Regions from separate parts of the Homo sapiens genome. Here all the other regions are linked to region 1. Evidence: promoter capture Hi-C in 16 types of primary human blood cells and fetal thymus (Javierre and others, 2016). All regions are on one chromosome and are shown on one strand. Each heading gives the region's core, a stretch centred on a gene start or on the middle of the fragment in contact. The rest is flanking DNA. Distances are from core to core; before and after follow the strand shown.

Evidence for each region. The method cuts DNA at HindIII sites, captures the fragments that hold promoters and counts their contacts. A CHiCAGO score of 5 or more calls a contact.
Region 2: a contact is called between a fragment that was not itself captured here and the fragment with the promoter of ADAMTSL1 in region 1, in 1 of 17 cell types (endothelial precursors). The highest score is 6.3, in endothelial precursors.
Region 3: a fragment that was not itself captured here is called in contact with the fragment with the promoter of ADAMTSL1 in region 1 in 1 of 17 cell types (endothelial precursors); the score reaches 7.2 in endothelial precursors.

The regions. Positions count from the first base shown.
Region 1 is chr9:18,471,845-18,476,042 of GRCh38, forward strand. ADAMTSL1 (ADAMTS like 1) reads left to right here and starts at 2,309. Exons shown (of 29, transcript NM_001040272.6): 1 at 2,309-2,451. The coding sequence starts at 2,389. The HindIII fragment of the contact is 3,309 bases long and covers 1,160-4,198 here.
Region 2 is chr9:18,818,296-18,822,493 of GRCh38, forward strand. All of the region lies in intron 21 of ADAMTSL1 (ADAMTS like 1), which reads left to right. Among named protein-coding and RNA genes, the nearest start is that of SAXO1, 210 kb to the right of the region's middle. The HindIII fragment of the contact is 2,896 bases long and covers 565-3,460 here.
Region 3 is chr9:18,783,854-18,788,051 of GRCh38, forward strand. All of the region lies in intron 19 of ADAMTSL1 (ADAMTS like 1), which reads left to right. Among named protein-coding and RNA genes, the nearest start is that of MIR3152, 210 kb to the left of the region's middle. The HindIII fragment of the contact is 619 bases long and covers 2,197-2,815 here.

The DNA of each region.
Region 1 (4,198 bases), core at 1,059-3,558:
AGGCAGAAATTTCTGACTCAAAATACCTAGGCAGTATTTATTTGCAAAGCAGAAAAGAATCTAAACTAGCATGTAAGTGGTTCCCAGTTATTTTCTGACCATGCTGATTATTTTTCTGTTCCTCTACAAATAGTATCTCATCATTAGCTTTGTTGCTACTTTTCTTTCTCCCATTACCTATTCTTCCCTTTGGATCTGCTTAATGAGCAGGGTTTATGTGTGAAGAGGGAGGAGGTGGTATTAGGTAAAATGTTCCATTAATAGAACTAGCTGAAACTCTTCAGTTAATGACTGTGATAGGAGGGAAAAAAATAAACCCTTTAGCAGAAAGCTCTGGTGTGTAACAGAGAGACACATGTAACATAGCTTTATGAATGAAAGTTTATTTCAATCAATCACCTTTCTTTAATGTGATGAGGATTTCAGACAAAAACAATAGTGGAAAGACAAAGTTAAGCATTTTTACATCTACTTGTGAATACGCTTTAGCTTATGAGCATTAGCTAGTTTTTGAGAGATTTGTAAAACAAATCTTTCTAAAAGGGAAAAGCATATTTCAAGAATGGGCTCTCTTTGTTATGGATTTGTACTGTCCATTTTTCTAGGTCCACATACTTAATATTGAGAACAAAGGATAATCTTTGTATGACCTTGACTTTCCTAACAGCATGAAAATAGGATTTTTAAAGTTTCTCTCTCTTTAATTGATATACCATATGAAGTAGGTAACCTAAAGTTGAACAACCTGCTTTTCTTCACCTTTTTGAAAAGCAACGCAGCAGGTATGTACATAGGCAGACCTGCCTGTATTCACATGCCCATTATGGCTTGATCAGGTTTTCCATATTCGTGTGTTTCATACCTCTTGTCAGTATTTTTTAATAATGAAAGGAAAGAACATTAATTCTAAATGTCTTGTACCTCCACTGCATATATTTCTGGGCTATCAGGAGATCTGAAAAGGGAAAACGTCCTGATGACACACCTATGGCAATGTAAGGCCAGGGCTGCTCTTTTATTCTTTCAAAACTCAATGATTTCCTTTGCAGATAAGGGGAAATACATCCTTGTTTGACATTTGACACTTTTCTAAAACTGTAATAAAACCTTCCTCTAGTAGAGTCAAATCTCCCTTGCTGGTGGATTAAGCAGCTTCAGAAGCTTCCTGACCTTCTCGTTGCTGTTGCTGGCCTTGTCGTCATTTCACTGCTCATTAGCACTTCCTTCAGGGCTGGACTGGCCTCCAAGGTCATCCCATCCAACCCTCTTGCAATAGTGGATGGAAAAATGAGGTAAAACTCAGTTCAGCCTTTTCTGCATTATAACAGCTCTGATAAAGGACGTGGGTGAGGTGCGGAGGAAGCTGAAACTTGGTTAAAAGAAGGTTTGGGGATTAACTGAGGATTTAATTCATCCTTTCTTTCTCTCCCGTGGCTAAAATAGATAGTTGAGAGTTGGCAGTGCATCAAAACCAGGCTGCTCCTCAACCCCAAATTTCAGCCCCACTCATCCTGGAGTCTTTGTTGAGGGTTTCTTTTTAAACTGGGGGATCTAAGTTTCTAATTGTGCCTTTACAATTAGCAAATCTTAAATGCCTTCAATTGTCACTTTACAGAGAAGCAACTTGCTTTGTTTTTTTCCCCCCAAATTAAGTCCTTAATAACACAAAATAACTTATGCCACTGTTTAGGCTTAGTGAGGAACCTTCAGAAAATGTATAGAGTATTTATTTTGCAAGTCAAGAGAGAAAGTAAAGAGGAACTTTATGGAGGCGAAATAAAACAGTTGTACAGAACACATTTACAGGGCACATTAAGTCGGTTTTTGTCTATGGTTCTTTCCCTTTATGGCATATGTTATATATTGACAGGGATTAAGTTTCTCTCCTGAATGGAACAATACACAGTCACAGGGAGCTACTGTACTTTACAAAGCAACAGACATCAGCACAGGCAAATGGCAAATAGAAATGCATCTCACAAAGAACTAACCAGGTCCATGGGAAGCACAGTGCTTGGCTTCATCTTTTGCAATTCTGCATCTTTTGCATTTCCCTTCTCGCTCTGCTGCTCGCTCGCCTTTCTTTTTCGTCCTTTTCCCCCTTTTTTGCTCGCACCGTTACACTTTCTCTGTCCTCCTGGCTTTGTTATTCAGCATGTCTGATTAGCAGGAGCCTGATTGGCTGGCTGCCTGCTCCGAGAGAGATTCCATTCAGCTTACCCCCCACCCATCCACCCACCCACCCCTCGGTCAGGAAATGTGAGAGGGGCTGATGGAAGCTGATAGGCAGGACTGGAGTGTTAGCACCAGTACTGGATGTGACAGCAGGCAGAGGAGCACTTAGCAGCTTATTCAGTGTCCGATTCTGATTCCGGCAAGGATCCAAGCATGGAATGCTGCCGTCGGGCAACTCCTGGCACACTGCTCCTCTTTCTGGCTTTCCTGCTCCTGGTAAATGCCTTTTCATTTCAATGCATTGCTATTGCCATTGAGTCTGGGTGCTGTTGGGGGTGTGTGTGTGTATGTGTGTTTGTGTGTGTGTGTGTGTCTTTATCTTAAAACTCCAGGTAAAATAATTTACACGATTACAAAGAGAGAATACTCCTTCTAGAACTTTTAACCTCAACTTCCCAAGCAAGATAAAGTCTGCAAGACTTTCTGGAATTAGTTACTGCTATACAGTAATACTGATACTGAGACATGAACTTTGGGACATACTGCATGGAGTTTGGGAGCTGAGGACTGTATATATGGTGGTGTGTATGCTTGGAATTTGGATAACAGACATCCTGAAATTAAACTCACTCACTGTGGTGTTCCTGGAATTTTTTGATGGATAGGCTTTGCAGAGCTTGCCCGTACCGCCTTTAATGAATTACTTTCCATCTATGCACATGTACTATGGAACCAGGTAAAGAGGGGAATGAGAGCCTCTTTGCAGCCAACCCAGATTATGGCTCTTAATTACTGCAAGTCATTTATGGATAGAAGTTAATGCTAGGATTTATGAATTGAGGATTATGGCCTTTGATCTCAAATTTACTTTTAAAGAAGAAAAAGGAATGGTGACTTTTAGTACGGCTGATTGCCACAGTCATAGTGATAAGATGCTCTGCTCTTGAACGTCAGTACACATTGCATTTTTGACTCGAAGTAAATGTTCCGTTGTGACTCATACTTGGTTTTATGGGCAGAAAATGAACATTTACTGTCCAAAATAAATCTACACTCAAAATATTAATAGCAATGCACATTTTTTAAACCAGAGTGTTCTGGGCAGGCAGCTTAGTAAACCTCATCTGAAGGTTTGATTCCAAAATTTGCACACACTGATCCAAACAAATGTGATTGTAGTTTTTCCTGTCACATTTATAACATGCCAGAACTTCCTCAGAAGGTAACAAGGCAGGAAGAGAACAAGGTAAAAATGTAGCAAATGAATAGGTTGCATTGATTCCTTGATGGGGAAGGAATGTTTGTTCTGATTATATTCTGACAAATCTGATCTGCGCTATAATTTTGAAGTAGGGAAGAAAGCCATTTGGTACAAACTGAAAAAGTCCAGGAGATTCATCAAATAGAGTAATCAGACAGTGATTCAATATTTTATACATTCCCACTTCTTAATGATTTGCATCATTGTAGCTAAGAAATTATAATGCTGCATTGCAAGTGCTATAAATATAGAAATAAATTTTTAATTTTTCATAGAAATTTAAAGGTAAACTACATTTCAAGCATGAATGAACTATAAGTTTTAGCTGTTCTGAAAAATACAAAGAACAGAATGTTTAGGTATGCTTTATGACTTGTGGAGCAAGCGATTTATGAAAGGTGTCTCATTTTTTCCATATGGGATGTGTTACTTGTATACACCATTAGTTTGTCTCATCTTTCCTTCTTTGTGATTTTTTTAAGTGTGTGTTATTTTCCCATTATATTGCATCATAAAGCAAATTACCAGTATACATTACTTTTTTGATATTTTCATATGGAAGTATGATCTCATTATACTTTAGTAAAACTTTCCCATTCAGGAATAGATTGTTTTGCTATCCATTTGGTAAACGCATTATATCCCTCTGTGATATCTTGAATATTCATATATGTATTAGAGCATATAATTTGACTTATGTGGAATGAAAAGGTATGTATGCTTATTTCAGAAGGACTTAAAACATATCATATTTAAATTACA
Region 2 (4,198 bases), core at 763-3,262, 350 kb after region 1:
GTAGATAGGCAGTGGCACCCCCATGCTTTGGTGGTTGCTTCATCTTAGATCTTCATCATATGAAGGTTTACCTCAATTTGTTACTTATAAGACATGAAAACCCATTTTAGAGTAAGTAGGAGGAATATCTTAACCTAGGGCTTACTGTTTCCGAATAACAGCCAAGTCTGATTTTCTCTGAAATATTCTGATAGCTTTAGGCTATCTGAAATATGGCCAGACCTGGTGGCTCACGCCTGTAATCTCAGCACTTTGGGAAGCTGAGGTGGGCAGATTACTTGAGCCCTGGAGTTGAAGACCAGCCTAGGCAACATGGCAAAACCTTGTCTCTACAAAAAAATACAAAAATTAGCCATGTGTGGTGACGCATGCCTATAGTCTCAGCTGAGGGAGGCTGAGATGGGAGGATCGTTTGAGCCCAGAGGTCAAGGCTGCAGTGAGCCATGGGCATGCCACAGCACTCCAGCCTGGGTGACAGAGCGAGACCCTATCTCAAAAAAAAAAATTAGGATATCTGAAATATAAATATATCTTTGTAAGTGTGCATTAGCTTTGCCTTTGTAAAGCTTCTCATGGCCTTTGTGATGTTTCCCTTCCAGCCTCATCAGTGAAATCTAGAACCAAGTCCCTTCAGCCCCTGTACTCCTAGATAGGGAGTAAGACAAAACCCCTGACAGGGGTTGGCATGAATGAGCTACCCCTCTGTGCAGGGATTAATGGTGGTGCCAGTAGAGCCCTTTCTGCAGAACCATCACCCCTCAACACACACCTGATCACTATGGACACATGCTTTGGCGATGAAACACTGGTGATATGATGGACCATGTTGTGTATCTTCTTGAGAGGTGGAACTGGTAGGAGTAAAAGAATAGGGGAGGGGCCAGGCATGGGGACTCACACCTGTAATCACAGCACTTTGGGGGGCCAAGGTGGGTGGATCACCTGAGGTCAGGAGTTTGAGACCAGCCTGGCCAACATGGTGAAACCCTATCTCTACTAAAATTACAAAAATTAGCCAGGCATGGTGGCAAGTGCCTGTAATCACAGCTACTCAGGAGGCTGAGGCATGAGAGTCACTTGAACCTAGGAAGCAGAGATTGCAGTGAGCCGAGATCGAACCACTGCACTCCAGCCTGGGCAATAGAGCAAGACTCTGTCTCAAAAAAAAAAAAAAAATAGGGGAGGAAAGTGCAGCAAAACAAGGAAATGGGCATTTAAAGGAGATTGAGAGGACCAGAATCTGGTTGAGGAAGTATTTACGTTGGGGAGCCTAAGATATTAAAACGAGCTTTGGCCACTCTATTGTGCCGCCTAGGGCCCTCTCTCTGGGACTTCATCCAGAGGCTCACTTGATAACCTTATAGTGAGAACCTGATATACCTAGTTTTCCCTGGCTATGACATTGCAGTCTTTATTTTTGTTTTTATCCATAAAACCATCTGTATTAATGCTGATTAACTAAAATAATTATTTGTATATTTGTCCTTATTCCTCTTGTTAAACAAGATACTCATTCAAAGTAGGTGGGAAAGAGCCTGCTTATAATTACACAGTGAATTTGCTGGACAAGGAAATCATCTGTGAGCTTAGTCTCCAGTTAAAACACTGACAGCTATAATGCTAAATGCCAAATGGCAGAGGATTACTTTTACTTTGCTGCTATAAGCAGCTCTTAAGGCTCTTTCCTTACTCTTGGTCACCTCTATCCCATTCCCAGTCAGGCAGCTTAGTGACCTCCTGATTGGTTAGGTGGGATTCTCTAAGCACCAATAACACTGCCAGTAGGTAATACTCTAGCTTGAGAATTTGCAACCCAGATTCTCGTAATAGACAGGGAAGAGGGACTCCATAAGGGCCTGCTTAAAGCAGTATTTTATGTCATATTCATTCATGTTATTCATTTAGCAGTTTTTTATGGAGTATTTAATCCAGGTTAGATCAAATTTCTCCTAATCCAAGGAGCCACAGATAAACAAGATACAATTTTCAGGAAGCTCACAGTCTGGGAAGGAGAAAAGTTATGAAATATGTAATGATAATACAATGTGATATGTAGATACGGTTGTTGTTTTCTTATTATAAAATATTAGAGTATTAAAGAAATTTTAGAAAACACAGAAAAATTTAAGAGTCCAAAAAGGAAAGAAAACAGCTTGTTCAAAGTCGTTCTCTCCAAACTCAACCACAGCTGACATTTTATTAATTTCCTTAATGATTCCCTTTTATCCTGCTTTATTTCCTCTCAGTAATAAACATTTGTCTGTGTCATAAGCATAATTTTAATGGCTATATAATAGCCTATATTAAGAATATTATGTAATTTACCTAGACCAACTCACATGTTTGAATTGTTAGCAGTTTTTCATTAAACAACTTTTTGCGTACATGTGCTTTCAGCTTACAAAATGCAGCCTCACATTCTTCCCAATCCTGAAGCATCAACAGCATTAGGCAATGAGTATGATAGGCTTTTTCTTGAAAAGTGACCTAATCCACTGTATCACTCCCATGCTTGTTCTCTATTTGTTCTCTGAAGAGGTCAGAAAACTGAGTCGGCGATAAAGGATCAGGGGAAGAAGCAGTGTTTCAGTAAATGGGAACAGAATGTGCAAAGGGCCTGAGGTAGAAAGAGCATGCTGCATTTAAAGAAGTAAAACCTGGCTGGTGGTGTGGCTATAATATCAAGAGCAGAGAAGAAAGTAGCATATGAGGCTGAGGAGGTGTGGGTAGGCAGGGGCTAGATCTTACATGTTCTCATAGATTATGGTACAGTTTAGGTTTTTCTCCTAAAAGCAAAGGAAGTATTTGAAGGACTTACTTAGGAGATAAAATCAGCAGGACTAAGGATGCAGAAATAGTTCAAGAGTCAGTGATGGGTGGTGTATTAGGATAGATTAGACTCTGGTATCAAGTAGACCCCCAAATGTATAATGGCTCAAATACAATAGAAGGTTTATTTTTGCTTATCTAAGAGCCCAAAGAGTACACCTGGTCATCTGGAGAGGATCTGCCCCCACAGTGTCATGCAGGGTCACAGGATGCTGGTGGGTCTGACATCTGGAACACATGCCTTCCAAGGTCTCCATAGGGGTTACCTCTATCCTATCAACCAGGAGAGGGGAAAACAGAATACGGAGGATGGTTGAGAAGGCTTTTAAGGGCCACGCCTGGAAGGAGCATACATTAAGACTTTTCACAATCCTTTAGTCACATGGCCACGCACAACTACAAAGGATGCTGGGGAAGGTAGGCTCACTGGGTACTCAGGAAAAAGAGGGAAACTGGTTTTGTGAACAGCTATCGTTGTCTGCCACAGTCAGTATGGAGAAACGTGGAAGGCTGGAAACCTTCTTTCCAGACTGCCTTGGTTTTTTAGAATAATTGACAAGACTGACAGTTGAGTTACTGTATCCTTTCTCTTTTCTTTCCCTAAGCCACCCTACCTCCACACCTCCTAGGAAGCTTCTAGAATTTCCCATGTAAAGGTGCACCTTTGAGTGGAAACCCCACCTTGAGATGTTGACACACCGCCATGGTGCAGGCAGCCTTCCAAATGTAATAAGGGATCCAGTTAACAAGAATACCCTGTCTGGGACTTTTTAAAAAAGAATATTTTAGCATCACCCTACCTGGCAGCTCCATGGACATCAAAGGCACTGGACCTTGTAATCATATCAAGTTACCACCCAGTATGACTAAGCTCTTTTACTGATCCTTTCAAGCAGCAGGGAGAGCATGGGGCTGTTGAAAAGATACACCACAGGGGAAAATGCAAACGTGGGTTCTTTTCCTTCGCTGTTTTAAGATACAAATAATACCAGGGAGGTTAGCATGTGGAGCCTATCCAAGTAGCTGGTCCACAACAACATAGCTTTTGGATTTTGTTCTGTGGTAGAGCATATTTTCTGTCATTTTCAGGTGTTTGTTTTTGTGGCATTTGCTGTCACACTACAGCAGGCTAGAAAAGATCATCTCCCGCAACCTGACCAAGCTTCTCAACAAGAAAGAGCTAAAAAGCCAGAACACATGGATTCTGGAACCTCTCTCCTGACAACACCTTGGTTTTACAACCACAGCAGAAACATTAATTCTGAAAGTAGAAAGGAATTAAGCCTTTGACAGTTCAGAAATAGTAAAGCAGCAGTTCAGATTTTCTCTCAAGAGTCAGGCTAGTATAATGGCAGGCGGTGTACACTTG
Region 3 (4,198 bases), core at 1,256-3,755, 310 kb after region 1:
TTACAGAGAAGTTTACTGCCTCCTGCTCTAGACCATTCACCATGCTACTGCCAGAGCATCTTTCTAGCAAACCTGTCCATGCTGCTTTCATGCTTAAAAATTCGTTTCATGGCTTGTCATCACTTGAGGATAAAGTCCGGATGCCTTGGCTTTTATCATTTGACATCCAGTTATCTCTCCAGCTTCATCTCTTACCATATCCTTGACCTCATAGAACTGAGCTCTGCTCTTCAGCAGTACACAAATACTTGCTGTTCACAAATGTGCCTGGGGCCTTCTGACCCACTTTGTCTGGCTAACTCCTGCCCTTCCTTACAGGAAGCCTATCCCCAAAGCCAGGTCAGATGACCCCCTCCATCATCCACATAGTACCCTATGCATAATACTCTCTCGGCCTTACCATTGTGTATTAAAATTAGCTGTTAGTTTTTCTGGAGTTTATTAATCATTCTCAAGGGCCTATATTTAAGAATGTGTCTTATTTTCTCCGTAATTCTAAGAACATGATAGACACTCAACAAATAAAAAACTGAATGAATAAATAAAGGAATGAATAGTTGGATGCCCACGATTAGGAGGGAGGTTTTCTTATTGTGAGGAGGCTGCGGTCTGCAAGGTTTTTTATAGTCTGGATTTCCTATGCCATTGTGGAAGAGTTCCAGAGTGATACCTGTTCCTAACCAAACATTTCTGACTTGCCCATATGTTCTCCACTAAAGAAGTTTCAGGAAACCCTGAGATTCTGTGACACAACTGTGCAATTTGAAAAGCACTGCTGTAGTGTGTATAAGTACAGAGTAAATCTCCTATCACATCCCGTCTCCCACCACATCCAGGCCAGTGGAGAAATCATCAGGCTCATCATCACAGGTAACATTTATAGAGCACTTACAATGGGCTTCAGGTGTTCATTTATCCTCACAATAACCCTTTGAAGTTACTATCCCAATTTTACCGATATTGGAGTTGAAGCACGGAGATGTTAGATTAACTCGCTCAAAGTCTCTCACTTAAAAAGTAATCGAGCTGGGGTGAGGCGCGGTGGCTCACGCCTGTAATCCCATCACTTTGGGAGGCCGAGGTGGGCAGATCACGAGGTCAAGAGATCGAGACCATCCTGGCCTACATTGTGAAACCCTGTCTCTACTAAAAATACAAAAATTAGCTGGGCATGGTGGTGCATGCCTATAGTCCCAGCTACTTGGGAGGCTGAGACAGGAGAATCGCTTGAACGCAGGAGGTGGAGGTTGCAGTGAGCTGGTATCGTGCCACTGCATTCTGGCCTGGGTGACACAGTGAGACTCCGTCTAAAAAAAAAAAAACTTAATGGAGCTGGGATTTGAATCCAAGGCAGTCTGGCTTTTGGAACTATTTCTTTTTATTGATTATAACCTTAGTTGAATACAGGGACTTGCCACTGTTTTATAAGAAGGCCACTGGGGTCAACTAGACCCAGCATAAATTAACATTCAATATTCTAGCCAACTGGCTTCCAGCTGATGAGGCTTTTGTTTTTATTTTGGCATAACTGCTTTAAAGATAGCCTTTTCTTCTACTGATAGCGCTACCTTTATATATACACATGTGTATGCAAATATGCACTAAATTAGGCACTCAATAAACATTACAATTGCTACATTTGTGTGTGTCTGTGACTGCACATGTTTACAGTGTTGATGGCTCAGGCACATGTGTGGTTAGAGACCTAGACCACAGGCAATATGAAGCTAAACTGTTCCTCGCTTTCAGTCATTCTATATAAACACTGAGCACACATTTGGAGATGAGACTCAGGCAAAAGCTAACTCCAGTCTGCTTTTGGATAGAGTATAACACCCCTAGCCAAAGAACCTGGTAAATTTTCCTTCTCTACATCTAATACCAGGAGGCTTACGTAATATGGACAAATATATGTTCAGTATTCCTACGTCTAAATCCAGTTCTAGAAACAATACCTGGAAGGGCAGTGCTGACTTCCTTGTAGAAGAGCCAGATTCTCCAAAATTGGCACTGCACATTGGATTACCAAATTAGGAAAAATTACTGGATGAGGATTGATCATTCCCCCAAGAAACACCTACATACTGCTGATAGCACCACACTGTCAGGGAAGGCCTTGCTTACCACTTAACACTATTGAACCAGGAGTAACCCAAAATCACAGATTCCTCATAGCTCAGCTGATTTAAGTCTGTAAGCTTTTAAGTAAGACTTTCTTTTCTTTTCAAAAGGAATGCAAGTGAACTTAAAGAATAATATGAAACTAGATGCTTGAAGAAAATACTTATTTCTTCCTGTGGGTGGGAGGTCACTCCCAGGTGATACTCCTACTAACATGGAATCCTAGGGAAATGGCTAAGTCTAAGGAATTTCAGCCTTTTAATCCCTAAGCCTGTTCCCTGTTTTCCTTCTCTTCTGGGCCTAGGTGTTCCCAGCTTATCCTCCCCAACCCCTTCAGCCAGAGGAGCAACCTGATGGCACATCAGTTAACACAAAGGGCAGCCCACGGTGGTAGGAGACAGTAAGGCTGGAATCAGAGCAACTTTGGCACAAATCCCAGTTCTGCCACTTAGTATTGTGAGTCTACTTTTATCTCTCTGAACCTTGGTTTTCTTATTAGTTAAACTAAAATGATACTAGTACAATTAGGCACTTTGATTCTGCCCTTCGGACTAGCAGAAGTGCAAAGAACAGAAATAATGTCTGTAACGTGCCTGACACACAGTGGATACTCATTTGCCAGTATCCAAAATCATTGTCATTTAGACATGGGGCCATTGTATCACACTGTCTTCCAGGACATCTCAAACTAAGAAGCTTCACTCTTATTTGAGGAACATCTAGGTAGTTGTTCAAAGAGTTGGGTTAGCAAGGTTTCTAGGAAAACAGCGTGATGGAGAATTATCAGCCTAAATCCAGGCATCATGAGGGGATGTTGATATTCTACTGACATTCTTTGCTATCATCTCTGAGCTGATAGGAAAGTGAAATCTGTAGCCTCTAAATGATTATATTTCCCAGAAAGTTTTGTACAGTGTTCCAAAGTGGTGCTGAATAGGAGATGAATTAAGGCATATTTGGAAGTCTTTAACTTGGGCAACTCAGAGTATCAGCAGATGGAAACTTCTCAGAATGGAAGTGAAGATCAGATGGGAAATTCCTCCAGGGTCAATTTCAGAACCATAGTTGTGAATAATTCTCTATGTACAAGTCATAAGCACATGAAATGCAGTTTCCAAGTTTGCAGATAATATAAAAACTAGAGGCAGGGAAGATAGGGAAGGAAAAACAAGCCCATTTCAGTTTGGTTTGGCTTGTTTCCCTTATAGAGCTAAAGGAAATGGAGATGACAAATGTTTTTCCCAGTTGAAAAGTGTAAGAATAGCAAGCCAGAGAAAAAGAACCGTCCCAGTAAATACATAAGCCTCACAAAAGAAAAGTATTGAGTGTCAACACAGTGGTCGCAGAAATGACCATCATGAATCATGCAGGTGAAGAGCACTGGAGGATAGTAGACAACCAGTGGCAAACAGACAGTACTAGTGAGGCTTAGAGTCAGGCACTATCTATTCCCTGAAATGCTAGGGGATCTCCAGAGATCCCCCTAGCAGTTAGTTTACTCTTCCTGGAAGAGTGGTCCTAGCACATGGCAGAGTTCCAGAAAAGTGGTTAACTGTTTTAGTATAAATAAGGATGTCACTGAGATAAACCAGAAATGAAAATTTTTCCATGTTATATGCCAGAAGTCAGCAAACTTTTCTAGTAAAGGGCCAAATAGTAAACATTTTAGGATTTGCAGGCATCAGGAGTAAGGAATGACCTTTGACTGTTCTTAAACTGACTATACTCAACTCTGTCATTATAGTGTGAGAGCAGCCATAGATAATACTTTAATCTATATGCTAGTTTTCCAATAAAACTTTATTTATAAAAGCAAGTGGTAATTGGCTGCAGTTTGAGGACCCCTATCCCTAGTGGATAGGAAATCCAGTCAGTCATTTCATGCAGAGGTTTGTAATTTGAAATGAGTTACCCAGCAAGCAGATAAAATACACATATTAGCAAATTCAAGACTCTATGAACTTCTGAAAGAGAAGGAAGTTAAAGGGTCTGGCAAAAAGAAGAAGACCAGGGTTAAGAATGTGTGGTCAGGTGGCCTTTCCCATTCCTAAAATATTTTCTATACTTCCATCTGAGC